2 separate regions of the Homo sapiens genome follow, and region 2 is linked to region 1. Evidence: promoter capture Hi-C in 16 types of primary human blood cells and fetal thymus (Javierre and others, 2016). All regions are on one chromosome and are shown on one strand. The core of a region is centred on a gene start or on the middle of the fragment in contact, and the rest is flanking DNA. Distances in the headings are between cores, read along the strand shown.

Region 1 (4,427 bases), core at 359-2,858:
TGCTGTCGCGCAGGCCGCCTGTGTTATTGAGGAAGATGATTTTGGTGGGCCGCAGCGCCTTGGCCAGCGACGCGGTCACCTCCAGGGAGTCGAGAAGCACGGAGCGGCGCGCGGCCGTCTCCCCGATGGGGCACAGGATGGGGATGCTGCCCGACTCCAGGCACCACTGCAGCAGGTCTGTCTCCACCGAGACGATGCCGCCGTAGCTGTGGGCCAGACGTGGTGCTCGAGAGGGCCCCCTCCAGGCCTGCCGGACGGGGCAGGGCGGGCAGAGTAGCACGCTCTGAGGACGCCTGGGCGGGCAGGGCGGGCACTCACCTGGCATGGGGAGCCGGCTCGGCAGCGCGTAGCACAGACCCGCCGCCAAAAAATGGCACAGCAGCGGCGGCGTTGTGTCGAAGCGCGTCTACCAGCACCTTGCAGCTCTTGGCCAGCTGCGCCTTGGCCTCCCAGAAGGAAAGACAGCCCGAGGGAGCCGTAGGGGCCGGCAGCCCCAGGACCACCAGCGGCTTCATGTCCATGCGCTGCAAGAAGGCCAGGGCAAAGGCCAGACTGGATACGCCCTGCTGGCACTTGAGCACCTCCTCGTCCACCTGCGGAGGAGTGGGCTTTCAAGGAGCGTGACACGGACCTGAGCCGCTGGCTCCCACAGCCTGGCCTGCAGGGCCGTCTCGGTGACCCTACCCTTCCAGAAGCTGTCAGGACCCAGTTCTGGCCACCAGTGCCCACCTGCTCCGCCCTTTGCCCCGTTGGGTCTTGCCACTCCCTTGTCTCACGCTGGGGTACCTCCCGCCCTCCTCCCTCCGACCTTGGACTCCGGGACATCTTTGGGGGAGGGGCAGTGCAAGCGGCTCCTGTCCAGGTCCTTCTGAACCCCTAACTGCGCCCATGTTGGGGGCCTTCTTCAGAGCATCACACCTGGCGGGTGGGGTCCCCCAGGATCCTCACTCGGGCTGGGCGGGAGGCTTCCGGAGGAGCTTACGGCCTCTCCCATTCCCGGCGGCGCTGGTCTGGGCCCTGCCGGGCTCCTTCCCGCTTCCGCTGCGCAGAGCCCGCAGCGTATCCTGCCATGCCTGAGGACAGGTGGCCGCACAACCCCATCCCCTCGCTGCGTCACGGCCCACGCCGGGCTCCGCTCACCTCGATGACGGCGAAGGGCTTGTCCGCGGAGTGATGGCAGGTCTGGAACTGCGTGAGCCAGTGGCGCGCCTCCCCAGGGCTGGCCCCGCACTGGTTCAGGAAGGCCTGGATGTCCCGCTGCACCAGCGAGCGGCCCGAAGGAGGCTCTGGGGACTCGTGGGGCACCGGGGGCCTGGGACTCGGCACCCACGACGGCTCCTCGGCGACGGGCGACTGGGAGACGTCGTCCGCGCCCGCGTACTCCTCGGGCGGGGGCTGGGGCTGCGACCAGGCGGTGCTGAGCCGGCGCCCCGGGCTGGTGCCCCTCGCCGCCCGCCGCCGCGCGCCACAGCTCAGCCTTCGGGCGCCCCCAGTGCCTCCCCGGCCTCTCAGCCTCGGGGCTACAGCAGCTGCCCGCAGAACCACAGCCATCAGCGCCGTCGCCATGACGACAACCAACTCTTGCCCCCCAAGAGTGGCAGTCTGTCTGGAGCGTCTGGCACTGGGGGGCTCTTAACTTGCCGTTGGGCGGGGCTGGACCTGGTCGGGGCGGGGTCCGGACAGGGGACCAGGAGTCTCCTCTGGGTGCGTTTGAGGAGGGTCAGGCCATGAGTCAGGGGGCGGGGCCACTAGGCTCCCCCGCCCCTGGAGGAACTGAACCCACTATCGGTCATGGGGCCGAGACTAAATGTGGCGGGTTGTCTTTAATCTGCTGCCAAGGTAGGTTCCAGGGGCGGCTTTGGGAGTCTGCAGGGCCTTGGATGATTGGCATTCTGACCAGAGAAGAAGGGACTGTAGGTGGCTTTGAGCACAGGGCTGGGCAGGGGGCTGGAAGGAGGGCGCTGGAAAGAGTAGAAGAAGGGGGGCAGTGGGAGGGCGGGGGCGGGTGGTGCTGGCCTTGTCTGTCCTGTTGCCTGAGCTCAAAAAAGATCCTAATGAATGACCATGAGGTTACCAGGGTTTGCCAAACTCCAGTCACTGGGTACCAGCTTGAGGAATTCTGTGATATCCTCAAAACACCCCTCAAAACTTATAATACTTTAGTGTTAATGCTTTTCTTTATCGAATATCACATCTGGTAAAAATAAAATAAAATAGAGTTTTTTATTTTGGTTTTTGAGATAGGGTCTCACTCTGTTGTTGCCCAGGCTGCAGTACAGTGGTGCAATCATAGCTCACTGCAGCCTCCACCTCCCAGGTTCAAATGATCCTCCTGCCTCAGTCTCCCTAGTAGCTGGGACCACAAATGCACACCACCATGCCCAGCTGATTTAAAAAAAAATTATTTTTTTTGAAGACGGGTGTTCACCATGTTGCCCAGACTGTTCGTGAACTCCTGAGCTCAAGCAGTCCTCCCACTTCTGCCTCCCAAGGTGCTGGGATTACAGGTGTGAGCTACTTCACTCGACCTCTGTAACCCTTTTTTTTTTTTTTTTTTTTGTTTGTTTGTTTGTTTGAGATGGAGTCCCACCCTATTGCCCAGGCTGGAGTGCAGTGTTGCGATCTCGGCTCACTGTAATCCCCGCCTTCTGGGTTCAAGCGATTCTCCTGCCTCAGCCTCCTGAGTAGCAGGGATTACAGGCAGACACCATCACACCCGGCTAATCTTTGTATTTTTAGTAGAGACAGGGTTTCACCATGTTGGCCAGGATTGTCTCAAACTCCTGACCTCGTGATCCACCTGCCTCAGCCTCCCAAAGTGCTGGGATTACAGGCGTGAGCCACCACGCCCGGCCCTCTTTAACCTTTTTAAACTTAAAGTTTATCCATGTTAGGTCTGTAACTAGGCCAGTATCACTTGCCATAAGCCTTAAGAATCAAGTGAGGAGGCGGGTGGGTCATTTGAGGTCAGAAGTTCAAGACCAGCCTGGCCAACATGGTGAAACCCCATCTCTACTAAAAATACAAAAATTAGCCAGGCAGTAGTGGCATGTTTCTGTAATCCCAGCTACTCAGGAGGCCAGAGAATCACTTGAGCCTGGGAGGAGGAGATTGCGGTGAACTGAGACTGTGCCACTGCACTCCCGTCTGGGCGACAGAATGAGACCCTGTCTCAAAAAAATTAAAATTAAAATTAAAATCAAAATTAAAAAAGAATCAAGTGAGAGGAAAACAATGTTATTACATTCCATTATATTCCATCTGCATAGCTTGCCTGCTTTCTTGGTAACATGGAAGGTTAGCAGGTGCCATGTGTTAAAGATACCCTAGCACCAAGCAAAGCCTTCTGTGTGGTAGAGGAATAGCTAACACATGTCGAATGCTAGGCACTATGCAAAGGACTTCACAAATAGTCATTCATTTAATCCTCTCAGTGACTCCAGGATAGCTATTATCATTATTCCCATTTTACAGATGAGAAAATGGAGGTACAGAAATATGTGAGGATCAGGGTCACTCAGCTCACAAGCCGTGGAGCTGGTCTAGGAAGCAGTTCTGCTCCAGATCCATGCTGTTAAGCAAGTTTTGGAAAGGAGTTGAAAGGCTTGAAAACATTCACAGGATATGATTCAATGTTACTTCATACTGTGTCCATGTGCTGGGCACTGTCAGCTGCACACATCCTGCCCTTGGGTACACTCTGATCCAGTCAGACCCTCTGTTGTTGTAGAGGGGGAAAGAGGACCCTCTGTTGTTGTAGAGGGGAGGTGACCTGGCCAAGGTCACACAGCTCGTCAGTGGCATGGCCAGACCCTAAGCACCCTCAGTTCCTACCCCTGCTCCTCCCTGCTTTCTTGCACGTGGTTTTGTCTCCCCATGCTGGAGTCCTGACACCTGGGGCTCTGCCTTTTTGGGGAGCAGGGCTTGGGCTACTTCCCTCCTGAGGAGTCTCCAGGGGAGGCCGAGTGAGTGCGCTTACCCGTTTCTGGGATCTTCCCCGCAGTCCCCCACCCCTCGGACACACTGTCCCGGGGGGGAGACTCTGTAGTGGAAGGAGGGGCTGACATAGGACCTCCTCATTGAGTTTTTTTGTTTTCCCACTTAGAAATCTTGGGTTCCAAGGCAAAGCATGAAGCAATGGCGTGGAGGGGCTGCACCCCCTACCTGGTGGGGCCACCTCCAGGGCCTTCTTTCTCTTCCCTCTTTACTCTCAGGCCCGGCCACACACACACTTCTCAGAATCCACTGGAGGAGGAGGTCTTAGCCTCCAGGGGCATAATAGTTTTCCTCTCCAAACTCCTTCAACCCAAATGTGCTTCTCTTTCCCTAGGCTGCAAGGCCAGCTCTTCATCACAGCAGGCCACCCCTGCTGACCCCTCTCCACTCAGAATTCCTTCTTGTCTCTGTCCTCTTTGACTCAGACTGGG
Region 2 (5,620 bases), core at 675-3,174, 130 kb after region 1:
GAGAAGAGAAAAGCTGCTTTGGGACCACATGGTCAGTAGGCACACTGCCCCCTGCCACCCCTCCCCAGTCACCAGTTCTCCTCTGGACTGGCCACACCCACCCCATTCCTGGACTCCTCCCACCTCTCACCCCTGTGTCGGAGGAACAGGCCTTGGGCTGTTTCCGTGTGACCAGGGGAATGTGTGGCCCGCTGGCAGCCAGGCAGGCCCGGGTGGTGGTGCCAGCCTGGTGCCATCTTGAAGGCTGGAGGAGTCAGAGTGAGAGCTAGTGGCCACAGCTGCAGAGCACTGCAGCTCCCAGCTCCTTTGGAAAGGGACAGGGTCGCAGGGCAGATGCTGCTCGGTCCTTCCCTCATCCACAGCTTCTCACTGCCGAAGTTTCTCCAGATTTCTCCAATGTGTCCTGACAGGTCAGCCCTGCTCCCCACAGGGCCAGGCTGGCAGGGGCCAGTGGGCTCAGCCCAGGTAGGGGCAGGATGGAGGGCTGAGCCCTGTGACAACCTGCTGTTACCAACTGAAGAGCCCCAAGCTCTCCATGGCCCACAGCAGGCACAGGTCTGAGCTCTATGTCCTTGACCTTGGTCCATTTGGTTTTCTGTCTAGCCAGGTCCAGGTAGCCCACTTGCATCAGGGCTGCTGGGTTGGAGGGGCTAAGGAGGAGTGCAGAGGGGACCTTGGGAGCCTGGGCTTGAAGGACAGTTGCCCTCCAGGAGGTTCCTCACACACAACTCCAGAGGCGCCATTTACACTGTAGTCTGTACAACCTGTGGTTCCACGTGCATGTTCGGCACCTGTCTGTGCCTCTGGCACCAGGTTGTGTGTATGTGTGTGCGTGTGCACGTGCGTGTGTGTGTGTGTGTGTCAGGTTTAATTTGGGGAGGAAGCAAAGGGTTTTGTTTTGGAGGTCACTCTTTGGGGCCCCTTTCTGGGGGTTCCCCATCAGCCCTCATTTCTTATAATACCCTGATCCCAGACTCCAAAGCCCTGGTCCTTTCCTGATGTCTCCTCCCTTGTCTTATTGTCCCCCTACCCTAAATGCCCCCCTGCCATAACTTGGGGAGGGCAGTTTTGTAAAATAGGAGACTCCCTTTAAGAAAGAATGCTGTCCTAGATGTACTTGGGCATCTCATCCTTCATTATTCTCTGCATTCCTTCCGGGGGGAGCCTGTCCTCAGAGGGGACAACCTGTGACACCCTGAGTCCAAACCCTTGTGCCTCCCAGTTCTTCCAAGTGTCTAACTAGTCTTCGCTGCAGCGTCAGCCAAAGCTGGCCCCTGAACCACTGTGTGCCCATTTCCTAGGGAAGGGGAAGGAGAATAAACAGAATATTTATTACAAATGTTAGAATATATTTCTTATACTAGGAATCTCATTTGCATTTGCATAGACTATACACATGGGGTGGAAAGGCCAGGCCTGCCCCCATCTCGTTGGTGTGGCTCTGCGTATACTACACACTCATTCTCCTGCTCCTCTTTTCCCTTAGTCAGTGTCCTTTCATCCTGATTCAGCTCTGCCTTGCATCACCCTCAGCCTAAGGGAGTGGGAAGGAAATGGGGTGTTTTCTTGCTGACCTGAGGCTATAGGGTCACTTGCCATTTCCTACCTTCTCTGGGGGATTTGAGGGTAGAGGCAGGGGAAGATCTGTTGTTGCAGCTGCTTCTGCCCCCTTGATCCAAATGACCATCATCTCTGATGGAGATGGGTTGGGTACCTGGCCTTCATGGCACCTTCACTGCTAGGGATGCTCAAGGGGCAGGCCTGGGGCCCTTCCCTCCTGTCTCTTCTCGGTCTTTCCTCTCTGAGCAGCCTCCTACCTCCCCTGCCTGAGCCCTCACTCCACAGCCCTCCCAGGTACCTAGCAGAGGCTGTCAGTCCTTGGCTCACCTGGAACAGGGCTGGGGCTGGGTTGGAACAGGTGTGTGCCCCCACCACAGCTCTATGACTCTGTTCTCCCTCCCTGCCATTGTGGACTCTTGTATTTGAGGGACCTCAAGAGAGTGAGGACCCTACCATCCACTGTCCATATTCAGTCCCAGCCCCAGTGCGCTTCCTCTGTTCCCTCCCTCAGCCATCCAATTCTTGAGTTTTCTCACTGATTGGTTTTCTTTCTTTTTCCTTGGATTAAATGTGAAAGCAAAGGCTTCTGGCTCTGCTTTTCTTTGGTTGGGGTTGGATGGATGGCTTTGGGAGAGAGTGAGAGCTGGGGAGCACAGCACAGATGACTACTAGAATGGAAGTCAGAGCAACATGTCTTGTTTTCTGCGATGTCTTCCTTTCCTCTGTCTTGCCCCTGCACACTCCCCCATCCCCAGAAGATGCTCCTTCTAAGTGCTTGTACCCAAGGACATGAACAGACATTTCTCAAAAGAAGACATACAAGTGACAATGTATGAAAAAGTGCTTTACGTCACTAATCATCAGAGAAATGCAAACCAAAACTACCATGAGTTACCATCTCACACCAGTCAGAATGGCTATTAAAAGGTCAAAAAATAAGAGATGCTGGTGAAGTTGCAGACAAGAGGGAGTGCTTATACACTATTGGTGGGAACGTACATTAGTTCAGCCCCCGTGGAAAGCTGTTTGGGGAGTTCTCATAGAACTACCATTCATTCCAGCAATCCCATCACTGGGCATCTACCCAAAGGAGAAGAAATCGTTCCACCAAAAAGATACCTGCACTTGTGTGACTGTCACTATGGGACTGAATGAAGGAGGATGTACGCCACTTGTGACAGTTACTACAGGACCGAACAAAAGAGGACAAATGCAGAAATGAAAACAAGACAAAAGAATCTGCTTTAAAGAAGGGGTCCTTGCTTTTGCTTCTAGTGAGCAAGGGCCCTGAGCTTCCACAGCCCTCCATATTTATTGGGTAGAAAGAGCAGGGAGGAGCAGGTAACCTTTGGTCAGCTGCTTGATTTATCACAGGTTCACATAATTGCTGACAGGCTTCATGTGTGCCTGTAGATAATCACAAACACTGCGCCTGAGGTGTGACTGCCCTCAGCATTCCTTCTGGGTGGCAGACGCAGTTTGTCAGTTTGCCAGCATTCTGCATTATGAGAACAGTTTGCTCATACAGCCTCCAGTGGTATACTGAGTTGATCATGACCCTCATTCTTTCGGCCTCCAACATCTCCCCCTTTTTGTTTTTACATTAATTGAACAAAATCTGTCCTCATGTTATGGGGGTTGATGTCAGTGTGACTCTGGTCAGTCCTCACTCTGTCTTTGCACTCAGATTCAACTGGCTCATGGCTCATACCAGGGGAACCAGGCCCATGGTTGGGATCCATGGGTCCCTCCAGTCTCCTGTTCCATGGTTGCACACACCTTGAGGGCACCCACATGGTTTGTCCATCTCCTATAAAAACATAAGCATACCCTCGTCCCCACGTTAGTAAATCTATAGGCAGTGGGAAACATATTCTGAGGTTCCTTAATGCTTTTCCTACAAAATGCTGACATGACGTAGGACTGCTGAGCATGCCTTGGGGTAAAACTTTCCATTGATAATGAGAAACAGGCTTTCTCCAATCAACAGAAGGCACAGAAAACAAATCGAGGCTTATCCTTCTCGTGTAAAGGTATAGTAAAAAAAAAAAATCTCCAAGATCCATTACTGCCAGAGGCCAGTCTCTTGCTCCCGTATCCATAAGCCCACAAAACTTTTAATTTGCACTGCACAAGTGGGTCTACTAGATGCTATTGGTTGTGATAGATAAATGTCCCTCCGAGTTGTACTTCCAAATCCTTGATTCCCTTGTTTCTTCTTTCGTGGAGAAGGGTGTAATTTGCAGGAGATAAGCAACAGTTGAGCAATATATTCTCCCAGTTCAAAACCCAAAGATCTTGTAACATTACCACTACTTGAATTTCTCCTTCATAATCCAAATTAACAACTCCTGGGACTACAGTAATGCCCTGTAAGTTAAGACAGCTTTTGCCTAAAATTAATCCCATGTATCCTGTTGGCAAAGGTCCACAAATCCCAGTGGGAATCTTCGTGGATTTGTCTCCTCCAACTAAAGTAACACATTCTTTGACTGGGAGACCCAATCCTGTGCTTCCAGGTGTTCCTGGGGAGAGGGAATCAATGTGCCTCCGGAAACCCACCCTTGAAACGGAGTTGTGGGCTGGACTGGGGATGCCCTCATTGTTTGAGGTGCCCACATCCAGGCCCCCTTCTCATTTCCCCACAGGGGGGTGCTGTTTTGATGAAATTTTGAATGGCATTGATTAGCCCAATCATTTCCTTTATTGCAAAGGAGGGCAAAGTCCTGGTGTTTTTTTCTATTGTGCGGGAGGGAACTGTATTATAAGATCCCTTCTTTCCAGAGATCTGACGGCATTCTTTTTTGAAATGTCCAATTTTTCCACAATTATAACACTTTCCCACTTTAGGGTTTGACCCTTGGCTCCTTTTAGGTTTATCAACTACTAAACTAGCCATTGCTTGAGCCAACATTGTAGAGCGATGAAGCTCAATTCCCACATCTTGACAAGCTCTGAGAAAATTTCCTAAGCTTCTTGTACATCTCACAGGTGCCAGTGCATGCTTACAATCCACGTTTGCATTCTCAAAGCCAAAGTTAAAGTTAGTATTTCTGCAGCCACAAAAGAAGACGGTACAGGCCAATCTTCACCCTCCCTCTCCTATTCACCGCCCTTGATAGGTGCTGTGGGTGGGGCAAAAAATTCTTTCAAATTTTGAAATAATGACAAAAGGACAGTACAGACCAAACCCCAAACAGAAAAAACAGAAAGAATGGACAAATTCTGCCCCATGTTACCCTGATTCAGAAACTTCCCGCTCCCAGTACCTCTTTAGGGACCTGACCTTATATCCCAGTACTTTTTTAGGGCACTGACCTTATATCCACTGCCAGCAGACTCGTTCTGGGGTTTCTCGTTCGTCTGGCCAGTTTCACTTTCTCTGCTCCAGCGGACCCTCCTCGTTCGTGTCCCTGTCTGTCCCTGTCTGTCTCTGCTAGTCTCTACGAGTCCCTGCAAGTCCCTGCTTGTCTCTATCTGTCCCTGTCTGTCCCTATCCCTGTTCATCCCTGTTTGGGCACCACTTGTGACAGTTACTATGGGACTGAACAAAAGAGGATGAACGCAGAAATGAAAACTTAAGACAAAAGAATCTGTTTTAAAGAAGGGGTTGGGGGCTTCTTGCTTCTAGTGAGCAAGGGCCCTAAGCTTCCACAGCCCTCCATATTTATTGGGTAGAAAGAGTAGGGAAGAGCAGGTAACCATTGGTCAGCTGCTTGATTTATCACAGGTTCACATAATTGCTAACAGGCTTCAGGTGTGCCTGTAGATAATCACAAACACTGCGCCTGGGGCGTGACTGCCCTCAGCATTCCTTCTGGGTGGCAGACGCAGTTTGTCAGTTTGCCAACATTCTGCATTATGAGAACAGTTTGCTGTTTGCTCATATAGCCTCCAGTGGTATACTGGGTTGATCACGACCCTCATTCTTTTGGCCTCCAACACACTTGTATGCTTATCGTAGCACTATTCACCATAGCAAAGACATGGAATCAACTTAGGTGTCCATCAGTGGTGGGTTGGATAAAGAAAATATGGTACATATACACCATGGGATATA

Evidence for each region. The method cuts DNA at HindIII sites, captures the fragments that hold promoters and counts their contacts. A CHiCAGO score of 5 or more calls a contact.
Region 2: a contact is called between a fragment that was not itself captured here and the fragment with the promoter of NAGS in region 1, in 2 of 17 cell types (naive CD4 T cells and endothelial precursors). The highest score is 8.9, in naive CD4 T cells.

Annotation. Positions count from the first base shown.
Region 1 is chr17:44,001,803-44,006,229 of GRCh38, reverse strand. NAGS (N-acetylglutamate synthase) reads right to left here and starts at 1,608. Exons shown (of 7, transcript NM_153006.3): 1 at 1,141-1,608; 2 at 319-593; 3 at 1-206. The coding sequence starts at 1,566. It also overlaps a transcript of PYY not described here. RefSeq lists an enhancer at 1-685. The HindIII fragment of the contact is 18,802 bases long and covers 1-4,427 here.
Region 2 is chr17:43,871,881-43,877,500 of GRCh38, reverse strand. MPP2 (MAGUK p55 scaffold protein 2) reads left to right here. Exons shown (of 13, transcript NM_005374.5): 13 at 1-2,141. Among named protein-coding and RNA genes, the nearest start is that of CD300LG, 28 kb to the right of the region's middle. The HindIII fragment of the contact is 5,220 bases long and covers 1-4,534 here.